Regions from separate parts of the Homo sapiens genome. Here region 2 is linked to region 1. Evidence: promoter capture Hi-C in human tissues and cell types (Jung and others, 2019). All regions are on one chromosome and are shown on one strand. Each heading gives the region's core, a stretch centred on a gene start or on the middle of the fragment in contact. The rest is flanking DNA. Distances are from core to core; before and after follow the strand shown.

What was found. Contacts are between HindIII fragments. The study calls those that stand out against the background at their distance.
Region 2: a contact is called between a fragment that was not itself captured here and the fragment with the promoter of DNAH5 in region 1, in 1 of the 25 tissues and cell types used here (hippocampus).

Annotation. Positions count from the first base shown.
Region 1 is chr5:13,943,414-13,946,378 of GRCh38, forward strand. It overlaps DNAH5 (dynein axonemal heavy chain 5), which reads right to left and starts at 1,275. Exons shown (of 79, transcript NM_001369.3): 1 at 969-1,275. The coding sequence starts at 1,025. The HindIII fragment of the contact is 17,200 bases long and covers 1-2,965 here.
Region 2 is chr5:13,884,571-13,887,766 of GRCh38, forward strand. It overlaps DNAH5 (dynein axonemal heavy chain 5), which reads right to left. Exons shown (of 79, transcript NM_001369.3): 18 at 1,394-1,559; 19 at 419-658. The region is part of intron 1 of DNAH5-AS1 (DNAH5 antisense RNA 1); the gene reads left to right. Among named protein-coding and RNA genes, the nearest start is that of DNAH5-AS1, 26 kb to the left of the region's middle. The HindIII fragment of the contact is 6,258 bases long and covers 1-3,196 here.

The sequences.
Region 1 (2,965 bases), core at 25-2,524:
GAAACTCACACCTCCTCCTCAAAGTGTCAGGGGACGCTTCTCAGAGGAGGTAACACTAGCACTTGGTCTTGAAGAATAAGCAGTGCATGGACTGGCTGGAGTCAGCTCTTCCAGAATGGTCTTCTAACTCTAGCAAGCAAGTTCAGGGGCTTGGCTGCAAGACGTTCACCTTGGGAAGGATGCATCAGAATCTTGTGGCTTGGGCAAGTGAGGGGTGGCAGATGGTGGCATACTTAAAAAATTCAGAGGTAGATGCCTGCTCTTTTGTGGTAAAAACAACAGGCTAGGGGGGATCATGTGAGCTTCTGGGGATACACAAAAAGACACAGTGATCAAGCCCAGTAGGAAGCATGGGTTAATGGTTGAGAACTGAGTCCTAGAGAAACCTCCAATTTCTTCTGACGTTAATTGGCAGTGGAAGAGGTTTCCAAATCCCTCTCTATGCATTTGCATAATAAAAAGCTGCTGAGCTGAGCCCTGTGCTAGGGAAGTTCATTCTTCAATGTGATTTCCAAAGGCACAGCCTTGCATCTCACTGTCTGTGACCTCATTTGCAGGCATATAGAACAGGGGAGTGATTTCAAAGCCTAAACCTTGCAGCCTAGAATCTGCCTTAACTATTTCTAATCACCAACTAAAGTTTACAGGTTTGAAAGAATACAAAGTGCCCAAACCACTATGAATGTGTTTTTGACCCCAGGAAAGCATCTTCCCAAAAGATGCAGCATGAATTTCTAGGTGCGTAGTTTAAGCGGCAACGTGCAGAAAAGCCTACAGATGCAAAATTTTTTTTATTTAAAAAATGAATATGTAGCCTATGCACCAGGTGAACATTAGTTAAAAAATGTGTTTCTCGCAAATTCATCAGTGTGTGACTTTGAACCTTTTTCAAGTTTGTTTTTTCCACCCAGGTGTGACAGATGATAATCCAAAACACACATGCAAAGGTACAGACAACAGCACCTTACCGTTAAAACTCGAGTGACGCTATGCTTCCAGAGCTGTCTCCTCCCAATCCTAAACATTGTAGCCGTGCATGGACAGGCTGGAGTCAGCTCTTCCGGAATGGTCTTCTAACTCCTGGCAGACCTGCTCAACATCCAACAGGCTTCCAAATGGAAAGTTTTACTTCCATTTTACTTTCACGTTTCTAATTTGCATGTATTATTCACTACATTCACAGAATAAAAATTAAAACTCCACTTATACCACTCAAGTTTTTCTCCTAGAGTGTCTGCCCTGGGCCTCTCCTCTCTCTCGAAGCCTGGTGTTGTTAGGGTAATATTGTTTATACACTATACAGTTGAACCATGCCTCTTAATCATGTTTATCAAGCAATCAAAGCATTTTAACTGCTCGGTAGCAACACAACTCCTTCTGTTGTTCAATTAATTCTATTCACTGCCCAATAATAAGCATTGAGTCAACAGTGATATCTAAATAGTTTCTTTGAACAATGAGAAACTTTAAACCATATCAGATTAGAAATCCAAGAAGCCACAGCTCTGAATATATTGTCCATGTCGAGAAACTCAGTCTTACTTTGTGTAAACAACTTTGCAAGCACGATGCACTGCCAGCATTGTGACTAATTGTGACTAATTGCCAGATAGGCTAATTGTGACCCATAGGAGCCATTTTCTCCACCACAAAGAACAAGAAGTCTGTTTCATATGCAAATAGCAAACCATGTCCATAAATTACTTGTGCTCACACAGTTGCACATACACTTCAGCCAAGGTAATTTATCCTATGTGGCTAAACATCTTGATCATCTTAACTGTGAAGATGTAATGGGAAAACACTGCCAAATGCTTTGAGAGATCTCTCATGTATGGTTTCTCCCATCGAGTTGAATAAAAGGCAGGACACTTAAGGTTGGTCTTGTTGAATCTAGAATTTAGTCCTTGGAATTCACAGTCCAGCAACTCAAATCCTAAAAGGTCATCCAAGGATAATCAGGAAATTGGGAACTCATCCTGGTAACATCCTGCTAGTCAACCTCTGTGGAGCCTGACTTGGAAGGCAGGGTGCTGACATGGTTTCAGAACATGGAGATTCACTTGGTCCATATCCAATGCTAGGGCACGGACGGCCTCCATATGTCAGGTTAACAGACAACATTTAGACCTCAATATTATTTGGTAAGTAAATAACTAGAACACAGGAAGTTTAAGTTTGTTTGCAGGATTTTTTTTTTCTTTTTTGAGACCTGCAGGTCTCACTCTGTCACACAGGCTGGAGTGCAGTTGCGTGACCACCACTCACCACAGCCTCAACCTCCCAGGCTCAGGTGATCCTCCCACCTCAGCCTTCCTAGTAACTGGGACTACAGGCAAGTGTCACAACACGCGGCTAATTTTTGTATTTTTTGTAGAAACAGGTTTGGCCACATTGCCCAGGCTGGTCTCAAACTCCTGGCCTCAAGCAATTGCCCACCTCGGCCTCCCAAAGTGCTGGGATTATACGCATGAGCCACCAGGCCAGGCCCTGCAGGATATTTGTTGAAGTCAACCTCTGGTTGTTGGTAAGCGGCTGTTGTCCGTTTCTAATAAAAAGTGTTGAAGACAGTATCTAGACTCTGAGTCCCTTCTCTGTGTGGTGCTGAAGACACCAGAAAATAGCAGTAGGATCGGATCCTCCTCACATGGCATCTCCTATCCATCCCAAGAATCCTCTGTCAACACATGACCTCAGGACAAACATGTTACAATTCATTACATCGCCGATTATCTTTCATTAGTTACATTTGAATCGGTGCTTCCCTAATGGTATTTTAGGCACCATCCTCATTGCAGCAGCAGCCCATTTACAACGCATCGCTTGGGGAGAGTTACTTCCTGGGAAGATTTCCACAGATGGCTGATGGCATGCATTTTGTGTTTGGCAGGCATAACCATGACTCCCTTGAGGCTTCACAGCAAACCGGGAAGCCTTCCAGTCTGTGTGGCTGAATTTCAACCCC
Region 2 (3,196 bases), core at 359-2,858, 59 kb before region 1:
TCACGCCTGTAATCCCAACACTTTGGGAGGCCGGGGCGGGCGGATCACCTGAGCTCAGGAGTTCGCCACCAGCGTGCCCAACATAGTGAAACCCTGTCTCTACTAAAATACAAAAAATTAGCCAGGCGTGGCGGCGTGCGCCTATAGTCCCAGCTACTTGGGAGGCTAAGCTGGAGAATCACTTGAACCCAGGAGATGAAGGTTGCAGTGAGCTGAGATCGTGCCGCTACCCTCCAACCTGGTCGACAGGGCGAGACTCCATCTCAAAAAATAAAAATTTAAAAAAAGATGAATATTTTTAATTATTTAAATTTAACAGGAATGTACATGCACGTGCACACGTGCACACACACACACACACACATACCCCAGCAACTATGCCTGATCATCCACTAAGCAAACCACACAAGATTATTACCCCGGAAGTTAATTGTGTGAGAGGAATGAATACGTTTGCGAATGGCCTCTAGTGTATTCCTTGTAACTTTCAGAAGAGCATCCATGTTCTGATGGTTGAAATGAGAGAGTAACTCGCGGGCTTCTTCCCCTAACATCTCAGTTTCTTTCTTTTTCCTCGTGACTGTCGTCAAAAGCAGGGCATTGGCCCTGGCATTAATAGATGATGTCAAGGTGTCAAAATTTCCTTCTTCTCTTTTTGCTGTTACAAGATGAAAGAGATAGAGATAGAGATAAGTTAGATGGATGGATGGATAGATAGACAGATAGATAGACAGATAGATAGAATCATCTGTTGCAATTAAAGGATAAATTACATGCAAGTTTAGTATCACTTAAACATCACACTTCTTAGGAAGTGAGGACATCAAAAAGTAGGAGGAAATCAGGAACCAGAGGGACTGATGGAAGCATCTCCTTCTCAATACAAGAAAACAGCCAACAAGAGAGGCAGGAGCTATGGCTGGAAAAGCTACAGTGGCCCCCAAGGACCTGGGTTCTGGTGCTACCTCCCACCAATAACCCTAAAACTTTGGGGGGATAATTTCCCTTCTTCACATCCACATCTCTCTGTTCTCCTCTGTCCTGCAAAAGGTGCGCTCAGTCTAGAGGCTCTCCAAGGGGAATTCCAGTCAATAATCCATCCAACTCTATTGATAAGGTAAAATAAAACACCCACCCACACATAAATGCAAAGAAAGCTAACCAGGGCCAATGCAAAGTGCATGTTTGCAAAGTTTAACCAAAAATAGTAGGAATTAACAACATAGAGTCACTAAAATATGCTCAGGGCCATAATTTCAGATTTATACATATCATTAGAAAATCGAGAGGATGTTTATAGAAGTATGAAATTAATTGGTATGTAGAAAATGCAGTTTTAGTTTTTAGTAAATGTCATAGAAAAACAAGACCCTTTCATTACCCCATCTCTTACCTGAACTTTCATTTTTGTAATTAACACTATTCTCATTGGATATTTTTTCACTTTCTTCTTCAGATAAAACTTCCACATCCAGCAACATATTTACAAGCTCATTGACTGCCTCCTCCACTAATGAGCTTTTAAAATGTAGTATTTGTGCACCATTTACACAAAGATCCTAACCAAAAAAAAAAAAAAAAAAAGATAGCACAGTGGTATATGGTTTATCTAGCTTTTGAGAGCACAGAAACAGTGGTAGCAATGCTGTGGCTCAGCCTCCAGGTGAGATTTCAGCCCCAGTGATGCTTGGCCACATCCTTCACAATAGCACAGGCCAGGTGTCCTCTAAAGGAATGTGTTTAGGACAAGAGAACCCACTGGATCAGTGTAGATGGACCAAAATTACAGGCACTTCTCCACCAGTAGAGAAAATATCTTCAAAAGCCATCAGCAGCCTCTCTACTCGTCACATTTCCTTCATATCACATAAATCGGATCCAGCCACCCTTCTTTCTCTCCTTGTTTTTGCCAACAAACCATAGTCATCCCCTCATTAATTTCAAAGACACTACCCACCCTTCTAACTATATTGTGCATTTCTCAAGAATGGATTTAATAAATATAAACTAACATGATTTGAGGCATGGTGATCAATTCTGGAGGAGATTAGGTAGACAGATAGTTATAGATGGATGATATAGACAGAATCAGTGATTTACCACCTGGTTGGAAAGTAAGCCCATGAAACAACAGACTGTCAGTTAGGCACAGTGTCCAGCTCCATTCCAAGTTCCAGCATTATACATCTTTAAACTTATACGGCTTGAAAACTAGGATTCAAATCCTTGCTCTGCATGATCCTGAAAATTCTTTTCAGTCTCAATTCCCTCATATGTATAATGGTGATATAGTAGAACTCACTGTAGTTTTTGCAAGTATTCCATAAAATAAATGCAAGTAAAATACTAAGAGCAGTGCCTGGCATAAAGTAAGCACACAAGAAGTGCTTGTTATTATTATTGGTTGGAAAATCACAAACATCCACAGGACCTAAATATTTGCAAAGGTTAGTCAACTCATTCCATGTAAACTAACTCCTCAATTCTCTGAGAGAACACTAATATTTTTTAAAGTCTGAATCTTAAGTCCTCTGACTCTACCTTGGAGAGAAACACACATGTGGTCTCCATTTTCAGGGCCAGCTCTCACAGGGAATCCTCAATTAACTTGCAGCTCTTTCAGTCCTCTCAGTAACACAAGCACATGTTTGAGATCATAAAATTCCTTTGTATTGAGGGTTCTAGAAGATGAGATTGATAACCTCTCAAAGACTAATATAGTTCCAACAACGTTGTTTACATCTCTTAACTCTTTCTCTCTGTGAGAAGGCATAACCATAAAAATGTAAATAGCATAGAAATTAACAAAGCAGAATATAAACGCAATGAGGAAAAAGAAGTAATAAATAGACTCATTAAAATATCCCCCAGGACAAATAAAATAAATGAAAGATGCTGCCTCCACTTATCCTGCTTCATTTCAACAACTAACCTCCATGATGACACCCAAAAGCTGAAACCCACCAAAAGGGCCTTTCTTTCAATCCTGAGTGGTGTCCTCCTTGAATAATCAGCATGGGGCTCCACCATTTCCTCATTCCCATGATGCTTTAGCTTTGGCAAACCAGGAACCTACTAGACGCCATGTCTTCTCAAGGTCTCTTCACCCTTACTCCCTGGTTCATGCCCTCTCCTAACACGATTTCACACTTCAACCATTGTTTTGCTAATATCCTTTACTCCATCACTCTCTCAA